Regions from separate parts of the Homo sapiens genome. Here region 2 is linked to region 1. The links are contacts of gene promoters, found by promoter capture Hi-C in human tissues and cell types (Jung and others, 2019). All regions are on one chromosome and are shown on one strand. Each heading gives the region's core, a stretch centred on a gene start or on the middle of the fragment in contact. The rest is flanking DNA. Distances are from core to core; before and after follow the strand shown. Region 1 holds the start of IMP4 (IMP U3 small nucleolar ribonucleoprotein 4). Region 2 has its middle 36 kb from the start of CCDC74A.

Region 1 (5,391 bases), core at 1,176-3,675:
TTCGGGGCAGCCAAGACCGCCTGGATGTCGCTGTCTGCCGAAGCCTTCAACAATAGGAATGCTCCACATGCACACCGGGCAAGAGGGCAGCCTCCAACTACTCTGGCTGCTGAGCACAAGCGTGGCTGAGAAACAGAATCTTTTGTTTAATTGTAGTTTGCTTAAGCTATATTAGTCACATGGGGCTAAGCAGCTACTCCATTACACAACGAAATCCACACTCTGCTAAGGCCAACGGTGACAAACTCTTTTCCCTCGTAACAAATATCTATAATGTTTGGGATTCCTTTCTTGTTTCTTGAATAATGCAGTGAATAAACGTATGGGCACCAATAATGTGTGAGGGACACTGTCTTTCCCCAGCAGGCACTCCAGTGGGGGAGGTAATTAACAAGCCAGGTGCAGAGTCAGTGAGGCACTCCCATGTGTGCCATGTAAGTGGGACAGGGCACACTCAGGGAGAGCCCTGCAATGCCATCTGTGCAGTGACAAGGGCATGGGGGACAGTTCCAGGAGCAGTTTCCTCTGATGGGATGGTGCCCGGTGTGTCTGAGGAAGGACTGGAGACCTGCCAGCTCAGTGTTGGGGAGGGCTACCTTGTATAGTTACCTTCACCTCCAGCATCATCAAACTCCAGGGACCCCTGTAAGGCCAGAGCCTCTCGGCGTAACTCAGTGGGAATCAGGCGGTTTTCTGCAGAGGGAAGAGAGAGGGGCTGAGTGAGTCACAAGCATGGAGACCTCAGCTCATCCAATACACCACAGCTTATTAGCCTGCACATGCTTGAAATAAAAATACCTCAGCCCTTTCTGAGCTTGGATAAAGCATGGATAGAGGTGACAAAACTTTCTACAGGCCAACCCCCATAAACAGTGGTTACTAGGACTTCATTTTCTTTAGTCTCATGACTTGAGGACTTTCTAAAATATCTTAATGTACTGTATTGCTTTTATAATCAGGTAGAAATCTAAACATCGATTTTTTTTTTTTTTGAGACGGAGTCTCGCTCTGTCACCCAGGCAGAGCAGTGCAGTGGTGCCATCTCGGCTCACTGCAAGCTCCGCTTCCTGGGTTCACGCCATTCTCCTGCCTCAGGCTGGCGAGTAGCTGGGACTACAGGAGCCCGCCACGGCGCCCGGCTAATTTTTTATATTTTTAGTAGAGACGGGGTTTCACCGTGTTAGCCAGGATGGTCTCGATCTCCTGACCTCGTGATCCACCCGCTTCGGCCTCCCAAAGTGCTGGGATTACAGGCGTGAGCCACAGCGCTCGGCCTTAAAAATTACTTTTGAAAAGAAATATAGACTGTTCTGTACGTATGATGGTGGACCAGAGACCTTTAAGCTCTCAGACAGCAAAACCGTTGGTCACGATGCCCACAGCGCTTCGAAGGCATGGCTTCAGCGGGCCCTGGACCACAGGCTGCCTACCGCAGAGCACAGCGCTCCAGGTGCGCACTCGGGGCCAGCACTGTTCCCCACGGAGCTCAGAGGAACTCCTGCAGGGAGGATGGGCAGCGCAGTCTGCAGCACCAGCGCTATCCAGATAGTCTTTAGAGAGAATTTCTTTTTTTTTTTTTTTTTGAGACGGAGTCTTGCTTTTTTGCCCAGGCTGGAGTGCAGTGGCAGGATCTCGGCTCACTGCAACCTCCGCCTCCCGGGTTCAAGCGATTCTCCTGCCTCAGCCTCCTGAGTAGCTGGGATTACAGGCGCGTGCCACCACGGCCGGCTAATTTTTGTATGTTTAGTAGAGACGAGATTTCACCATGTTGGTCAGGCTCGAACTCCTGACCTCATGATCCGCCCGCCTCGGCCTCCCAAAGTGCTGGGATTACAGCAGTGAGCCACCGCTCTAAAGAGAATTTCTACAGGACAAGATAAAGTCTTTAAAACTTGGGACGAACTTGACACACTGCACACAGCGGGCAAGCTGCAAAACCCGGGTACTGCAACGTCAGTGACAAGTAATTAATACCATCACACGGAAGAAACACTCTCAAAACCAACAGGAGAACCCAATGGGCAAGGAAAACGGCCGGCAAGCATTTGGAAAGACGCTCGGATATTCGAACACAAATGCGTGCCGGGGTGGTTTACCACGCAGACGCCCGCGGGGCCGATGCCTTACCTTCCAGCGCGCGCCGCAGCCGCTCCTTCCTCTCCTGGGCTGAGCGCTGCGCCTCCTCCCGGGCCTTGCGGTACAGGTACTCGCGGCGCAGGCGGGCCTCGCGGCGCAGCTGTGGGAACAGCAGGCCCAGTCACTCACTACTCGCTCCCGAGCCCCGGAACCCCGGAGCCCCGGAGCCGCTGAGCCTCCAAGTCCCCAGAGCCACATCCCCAGCACTTCACGCGCCCCGGACCTCCGAAACAGGAGCTCATTCTCCTACCATCTTGAGTGCCGCTTCCACGTGGGTCCGGGAGAATCTGTGGGCTCCTCCAGCGCGACACAGTCCTCACTTCCGCCCTCAACCAAGATGGTCCCTTAGACGCTTCACTGGTGCCTGCAGCTGTGGGGAATGCCCTATGTTAAGATGGCGAATAGGGCGGGGACATCTCAAGGCGATTGGCCATTCCGGCAGGGCGTTCTCCTTGGGATAACCGATAGACTGGATACAGAATGTCACACGTGACTTAGGACCGCAGCTAATAAATATGTCCGCCCAGGCTTCTCCATCCTCGTCCTCCCCCCACCACCGCCGTGCAGAATGCAGTTTTCAGATGACGAACCGCTAAAACAATCATAATTAGCGGCTGGAAACAGTTCAACTGTAAAAACCGCACACCGACTGAAGGTTGCTTGCCGGCTCCTTTCCAAATTAACTTTAAAACCACTCTTCCCTCAACCAAAATGGTTTCTGTAGAGCTTCGCCTTCTTCCATCGCCACAACAGTGGCGCGACTTCTAAGATTCGGCAGCTTCCGGAAGGACTCAGAACCACCTATAACCCTAGCCGACAGTTCAGCAGGCTGATCCACTTGGGGGCTAATTGGAGAAACCAGTTGATTGGTTGCTTCCGTGCTGCTTCTCTAAGGGCGCTTGCCCTTAAAGAAGCTGACCCAGAGGCCTTGGTGCTGCCGGCGTGGGGATCCCCAGATGGGAACGCCCCTTGATGGAGGATCTCGTGTGCCTATTGGCTGTCCTGCCAAACTGCGGAGGGTGACAAGGAAGAAGGTGGCTCCAGATCTGGAGGTGTGTCCATGGCGGCGCTTGACCTGCGAGCGGAGCTGGATTCGCTGGTCCTGCAGCTGCTTGGGGACCTGGAGGAGCTGGAGGGGAAACGAACGGTGTTGAACGCCCGGGTGGAGGAGGTAGGCGCCTGGGGCGGGCAGGAGGGTACACGGGCGTAAACTGAGTCTCACCGCTTTCCTCTCCCTGCAGGGCTGGCTCTCGCTCGCCAAGGCTCGCTACGCGATGGGCGCCAAGTCGGTAGGGCCCCTGCAGTATGCTTCCCACATGGAGCCCCAGGTCTGCCTCCACGCCAGGTGAGGAAGCTTCCATGCTGGGCTGGGTGGGCGGGCGGGCGCGTTCTAGGCCCGGGCTGCCAAAGCTCCATCCTCCCTTCTCGTCCTTCAGCGAGGCCCAGGAGGGACTCCAGAAGTTCAAGGTGGTGAGAGCTGGTGTCCACGCCCCAGAGGAGGTGGGGCCTCGCGAAGCAGGTGAGCCCCCTCTTCCTTCTGCAGAACCCCTTCCCAGTGTCAAAGACAAAATGCAAATTATGGAGATGATTTAAATTAGGTTTTTGCGATAAGAGAGAGCATCCCAGAGCAGAAGAACAGAATGTTTTTGTAGGGTGGTTTTGCCTTAGACTTTTATAGGAAGTAGAGAAATTGTTGGTGAGTTGCTTTACACTGGGAATAGATTTACAATCACATACATTTCAGTCAGCTGAACAGAAAATATTTATCTGTGTGTCTAGCTAGTTTCAGAGGGACAAACTTCTAATCCCAGTTAATCATCCTGAGACAAAGAATGGGGAGTTGGAACGTCTATGTCTGGTCTGTTGGCATGTTCAGGTACAATGGGTAAGATCAGTGTCACAGGCAAACAGGGTCATCAGTGGGTCTTACAGGAGTCACGGGAAAGAGTGGACAAACAGTCTCATCTGAATCACAAGGGGAAAGGCTGTGTTTTGTGGTAAGCTGTTTCCTGGAACCCCAAAGTTGGAATTTTCCAACCAACAGTGTTTTATAGAATCATGAGCTCAGATCAAGCTCAACATTGTCACCAAGATGATAAAGGTCAGGGAGTAAGATCCCAGCCTCCTCCAACCTTTCTTTCCTCAGGTCTGCGGAGGCGCAAGGGCCCCACTAAGACCCCAGAACCGGAGTCCTCTGAGGCCCCTCAGGACCCCCTGAACTGGTTTGGAATCCTAGTTCCTCACAGTCTACGTCAGGCTCAAGCAAGCTTCCGGGATGGTGAGTGGACCGTGTTGTTTGGCTCTGTGGCCCTCAGACCCTCTATCCACAGGGAACACTTGAGCACTGCTGCCATGGCTGGGGTTAGTCTGTGAAAGGCTTTGCAGGTTTTCCTCCATCCAAACTTCCGTTGTACACCCATTATTTTTTCCAAAAGCATTTACTGGTTGTTGGCAGCATTCGGGTTCATGCTAGCTGCTGGGGATACAGCAGGGAACAAAAGAGACAAACACTTTTCATGTAATGTTTAGAAGCAGACAAAGGCAACGTGCAAATAAGTAGGCCCTTAACATAAGTCAGGCTGTGAAAATTGTTATGAAAAACACATAATGGAGTGGGACAGGAGTGGGCCAGGGGAGGTCTCTCTGAGGAGGTGAAGGAAAAGCTTTGTGGGTGATTTTGGGGAACAGTGCTCTAGATGGAGGAACCAGCCAGGACAAAAGCCCTGAAGCCAGATATATCTGGTATGTGCCGAGGCCGGTGGCCTAGAGTGGAGTCAGGTGATGTAAGCCCTGATGAAGACTGTGGGACCCACAGAGAGGCTCTGAGCAGAGGATGGTGCAACTGGCTGTACAGGGTCACAGGAATGCTTGGGTGCTGGGCGGGGACACAGAGCAGAGGGAGGAAGTAGGTGTCAGGGAGCAGCCAGTGTGAGAAGCAGATAGCGTCACTGGAGGAGGAGGTAAGTGGTGGGAACCTGCACAGGTTTTAAGAATAGAAGCCCCAGAATTTGCTGACAGATAAGATATGGGAGTAAGGGAAGGAAAGGAGTCCAGGAGAGCCTGCGGTCTCCACCCAGAACCCCTGGGAGGATGGAGCGACCCTCACCTGCTGTGGGCAGCTGAGAGGATTCCAGAAGGCAGGAGTTGGTGTGGTCTGTGTGGTATCCACCGACGCCCTGCTGGAGAGTCTGAGTGGGCACTTGGGCACATGTATCTGGAGTTTGGGAGAGGCCTGGGCTGGAGAGAGATTTGGGA
Region 2 (5,391 bases), core at 1,421-3,920, 1.2 Mb before region 1:
GATGAAATCAAGAGACGCTGGGTACTTCCAGACAGAAAAAAAAGGGAGACAGGGAGCCTTGGAGGAAGAAAGACCCAACTGGTGCTGTGTTCACCGCCTGGGTGACAGGTACGTTAGGACCCCAAGCATCAAAATTCTACTGTATAGCCATGTAGTGAAATGAACCTGCAGGCGTACCCCTCGATCACAATAAAAGTAGCTATCATTTTAGAAAACCCAGCTTTGGAAATAAAAATAGAAAAAAGGAAGAAAACACACAAAACAAAACAAAAAGCCTACAGTGACCCAATCCATCCATTAGTGGCATGAACACAGAAAGACAACCGAATGGACACAACGAAGGAGCCAAATAATCAACCCACAATTATAAACACTGAACCCATGGGATTCTTGTTGTTCCTCCAAAAGCACACCAAAGGCACAATGGTTGAGGAAACTGAGGGGTCACGTGCAAAGGACCGAACCTTTCCTTTACCCAAGACACAAAAAGCGACACAAAATCTACTGAACACCTAAGTTCAATCCTGAAACCAAAATCTCCAAGGAAAACACGTAGGGTGTGTGTCTACTGTGGGTAAACTTGAACCTGTGAACCTAAGCCACAAACAGAAAAGGAAGACATAGGAACCAAATACCCATAGACCATACAATGGCTTCGCCATCTCACTTTTCTTCTCAAAGGGACACAGAAATCACCACTAACAAAAGCTAATGTGACCATGTGAGACTAAGGACAACTTCAGAGCTTCACGCAGCTTCAACACAGGACAGAAAATACTGAACCCAAATAAAAGGCATCTTGCAGACTAGAAGAAAATTATGAAAAACTGTCAATCTGGAAGGGCTTCTTATCTAACATACTCAAGAAACTAATGGTCCTAAGTGGACAAAAATACAAAAACCAAAACACATGCTAAAAATGCCCAAAGGACTGGCATAGCCATTTCTGAAAAAACCTGAAACAGACTCTCAGGTAATAGAAAAGTTTGTCCACATCAGAAGAGTTTCTTCCCAGAGAACGAGTATGACCAGAAACAGCAATAAAACTTTGGAAGATAAGGGCAGTGTAGATTTGCAGACAGAGGAACTATTACACACTACTGGTTTGAATGCAAATTCGTATACCTGCTGGGAGACAGCTGGAGGTTTCTGAAACAATTAACACAACCACCAGTTCCTCTAGCCATCCCAACACTGGGTATACCTGCAAAGCCAACCAAACCTACCTTAAGGAGGTATCTCCCTCTCATGTTTCATGAAGTACTCTGGACAATAACTAAGATGGGGAATCAACCTACTTGTCTTTCTACAGATTAAAAAATGCAGGAATTGAAGGATATATGCACAACGGTATACTCTTCAGCCATCAAACTTCCGGACATCAGTTCACTACCAGCAAGATGGAAAAACCTGGAAGACATTAAGTTAAAAAACATGAACCAGGCAGAGGAAGACAAACACAAATACTGCAAAATCTCATGCACGTGGAATCTAACAAAGTGAATCTCATAGAGTAGCAATGTCAACAGTGGGTACCAGAGGCTGGGGGGAGGATTGGAAATGGCTGCAAAGGGATGTTCAGATGAGACGCAGTTACTCTGGTGTTGTACGGCACAGCAGGGTGACTAGGCTTAACAGTATCATAACATAATATTCAATATTGCTGGAAAGGATTTGGAATGCTCTCTCCATCAAGAAATCCTCACTGTAGCATGAAACAGACGCTAGGTCCTGCAGTTTCATTGATTCATGTAAAAAGGTCCGTTGCACCCTTTAAATAAAAACACAGACCATGTCCTATTTTTGTTTTCCATATAGGATCACAACACAATACTAAAAATCCCGTGGGACAATCAAATGCCCCGCATTCCCAAAGCAGTTCCTACACATACAAAGTCGGTGGAGCCATCACACTCTTCCACTTTACATTACTTCCCAAAGCTTTAGTTACCCAAGCCATTCGTGATAGGCATTAACAGAGAAACAGGCCAATAAACACAATGAGGGTGTCCAGCAGCAAACTCAAATGAAGGTCTCAGTTAATTTAGAAAGTTTATTTTGCCAAGGTTGGGAACACACTCGTGACACAGCCTCAGGGACATGATGACATGAGCCCAAGGTGGTCAGGGCACAGCTTGGTTTTATACATTTTAGGGAGACATGAGACAACAATCAATATATGTAAGAAGTACGTTGCTTTGGTCTAGAAAGATGTGACAACTTGAAGCAAACGCAGGAAGACTGGAAGCAGGGAGGGAGCTTCCAGGTCACAGATGAGTGATACACACATGGTTACATTCTTTTGAGTTTCTGATTAGTCTCCAAAGGAGGCAATCAGATATGCTTCTATCTCAGGGAGCAGAGGGGCGACTTTAAATAGAATGGGAGGCAGGTTGGCCCTAAGCAGTTTCCAGCCTGAGTTTTCCTTAGTGATTTTAGGGGCCCCAGATATTTTCCTTTCACATCTCTCTCCTTTTCTTTTTAAAAAATCTTTTGGAAAAAACATTTTACAAGAAAATGAATCTCTGGTCTCGGGTTTCATCTGATCTCTCATGGCTAGGAGGGTTTATTCCTAGATAGGTAGGTCCTAAATGCTCATTCTTAGCAGGTTGTGAAGTCTCACATCCTGTGAAGTTAAAATAGCGGGGAGGAAGGCAGAAAAAACAACAACAAACAAAAGAACAATCCTGGAAAAATCAATATAAGCCACGTTACTCTGCAGTCCATACCTCAGTAGGCAGGTATGAAAGTGGCTTATGTATGTAAATAGGTTGCTGTTATTTTCTTCTGAAGTTTAAGTGGTCTGGCTTCAGTTTGCAGGGTTTTAAGAAAGCACCGCTTCGTTTAGGAATAATTGAAAAAAAATTGAAAACATTATTTTAAAGACTCGTAGGCAAGAAAAATTAGAATTCGGTCCAAACTGTAGAAAATAATAAAAATTGAAAAAACATTAGGCAAGACTAGAATCTAAAAACAAGTCTACTGTAGTTTTGAAAAATAATTTTTGTCTCTCTCCAGTTTTCAAATTTCTACTAAAGATGAATCATGTTAGAACTGATTTGCTTTATTATACTTGGCCTAATTATCTGCATACAGTGCAACAATCATTATTTTTTACATAGGCTTTTAAATTGGCTTTGATGGAACTTTATTCCATAGCAGGAATCTTAGATAAGACTTTTTCAAAGCCAAGCCCAGCCATGGATTTGTGCCATCAAATACCTATGATTTCAGTGAATTTCCTCTCCTCTTGAGGTTCCAAGATAAACCTGGGGCTTCTGCACCTCTCAGAAAATGACATTCTTTATTTACCACAGGTCAAAATCCTGTACAGGGACTGTGTACACAAAATATGAGGCCAGTTTTTCCAAGGGCTTTATTGGCTTGATAAGTCAGTTTTGATTCCTTAAAGGAAAGCACACCATTTCAGTCAAACCCTTGATAAAATAACCAAATTCTCCAACTGTGTCCTATTCCAAAATAAAACAGATTCTTCTTGCACTTATGCAAGTAACTATACTGCCATAAATTAAGAATACTCATAGTTTCCAAATTCTGGAGAAATTAGGTAGAGAAAAACAAATATGCTCCAAATTTTGTTCACAGGAATATACAATAATTTATTGTTAAAAGCTGTAAATAAAAGTTTCCTTAACTCTGAAAAACTAAAAGTATTAGCAATGTTTTAAGCAAAAAGTCAAAAAGATAACTTCAGTTTTCTATTGGTTCAGTTATCTCAGTTAACTCCTGTTCTGTTTGATAGTCATGAACATTTCAGCTCTCCATGAGAATTTTGAAATTTTTTGCTTTATTCCAGTGTAACAATTTCCAAAATTATCAGAAAACCTGAACTTAAGTGCACCTGTTAGAGTCCTATAGCTGATTATAAACCCACCTTATAAAGAGGGTTTAAAACGAGACAAAACAAGACAATTACCTGTGGATGAAAAAAAATTTAAGGCAGCCATAGTTAAAAGACACAATTGACAAGTGAATTTGTTACCTCCGTGGCACACAATGATTTTAACATAACAATTATGATTATTACAAATAATGTACACTAAGTTATATCAGAATTACAGGAGTTTCCCATCATTTTGGAAACATACCAAAAACATATACAAATGGATCTGAAAGAAAGCCAAACACCATTTCATATTTGACAATGTTTCCAAACATTTTATAGCAGGTAAGCCAAATTATGTCATTTTTAGACTTTAGAGAACCTAATGTCTTAAAGGATTACTTAGGATAGAAAAAGACATAATATATAATTTGATTTTGGGAAGTTTGTCAAATATAAAATGTTTAAAACACTTGATGTTAAAAATAGGATTACAGGTCATTGTAAAGTCATTTATTTAACCAAAGTGATAATTTAAGAATTTTTTAAAAACAGCATGAAGCCAATTACATTTGTTTGCGGCATTATTCACAATAGCAAAGACTTGGAACCAACCCAAATGTCCAACAATGATAGACTGGATTAAGAAAATGTGGCACATATACACCATGGAATACCATGCAGCCATAAAAAATGATGAGTTCATGTCCTTTGTAGGGACATGGATGAAATTGGAAATCATCATTCTCAGTAAACTATCACAAGAACAAAAAACCAAACACCGCATATTCTCACTCATAGGTGGGAATTGTACAATGAGATCACATGGACACAGGAAGGGGAATATCACACTCTGGGGACTGTGGTGGGGTGGGGGGAGGGGGGAGGGATAGCATTGGGAGATATACCTAATGCTAGATGACGAGTTAGTGGGTGCAGCACACCAGCATGGCACATGTATACATATGTAACTAACCTGCACAATGTGCACATGTACCCTAAAACTTAAAGTATAATAAAAAAAACTTAAAAAAAAAATTTTGTAAACAATCTATAAAATGTAATCTTGATTACAAAATATAATTCCATCAGCCTTTTATAACCTGTACTAAGCAGTTGGTTAATGCTTCAAGAAAACCTTGTTAATCTGACACAAGCGTCCATATACTGGTTTTGCATCAGTGTGCCTTTGACATTAATAAGTAATGCATAGAGAAACTGAACCTACTTTATTTTTCAAAATCGGCCCTTACAATCTTATGCTCCCACCTCTTTCACAATAGTCCCTGGGTCTTGAGGAGTTGAATAGCTTTCATCATTTCTTGCCCTGTGTCTCAGGAATGCAGCAGTTTATTTGAATTGGCATCTTCTATGGGGCCTGAAGATGAGCCTTTAATTGCTGTGGGTGTTTAAGATTAGCAGGACTTAGTGTCCTTTTTAGACCTAGGAGTTAAAAGCCCTGTAACTCAATGTTGCAAGGATTTTAAAAGCATATACAGGAAGACACATGGATGTAATGACCTCAATTTTTAAAAAATCTCAGGTTT

Evidence for each region. The method cuts DNA at HindIII sites, captures the fragments that hold promoters and counts their contacts. A contact is called where the count stands out against the background at its distance.
Region 2: a fragment that was not itself captured here is called in contact with the fragment with the promoter of IMP4 in region 1 in 1 of the 25 tissues and cell types used here (lymphoblastoid cells).

Annotation. Positions count from the first base shown.
Region 1 is chr2:130,339,931-130,345,321 of GRCh38, reverse strand. It overlaps IMP4 (IMP U3 small nucleolar ribonucleoprotein 4), which reads right to left and starts at 2,425. Exons shown (of 9, transcript NM_033416.3): 1 at 2,387-2,425; 2 at 2,128-2,236; 3 at 610-693. The coding sequence starts at 2,389. VMA22 (vacuolar ATPase assembly factor VMA22) reads left to right here and starts at 3,158. Exons shown (of 5, transcript NM_032357.4): 1 at 3,158-3,307; 2 at 3,378-3,481; 3 at 3,573-3,655; 4 at 4,283-4,414. The coding sequence starts at 3,197. RefSeq lists enhancers at 2,393-2,562, 2,693-3,242. The HindIII fragment of the contact is 9,368 bases long and covers 1-3,947 here.
Region 2 is chr2:131,560,880-131,566,270 of GRCh38, reverse strand. No RefSeq gene overlaps it. Among named protein-coding and RNA genes, the nearest start is that of CCDC74A, 36 kb to the right of the region's middle. RefSeq lists a silencer at 1,046-1,225. The HindIII fragment of the contact is 8,227 bases long and covers 1-5,391 here.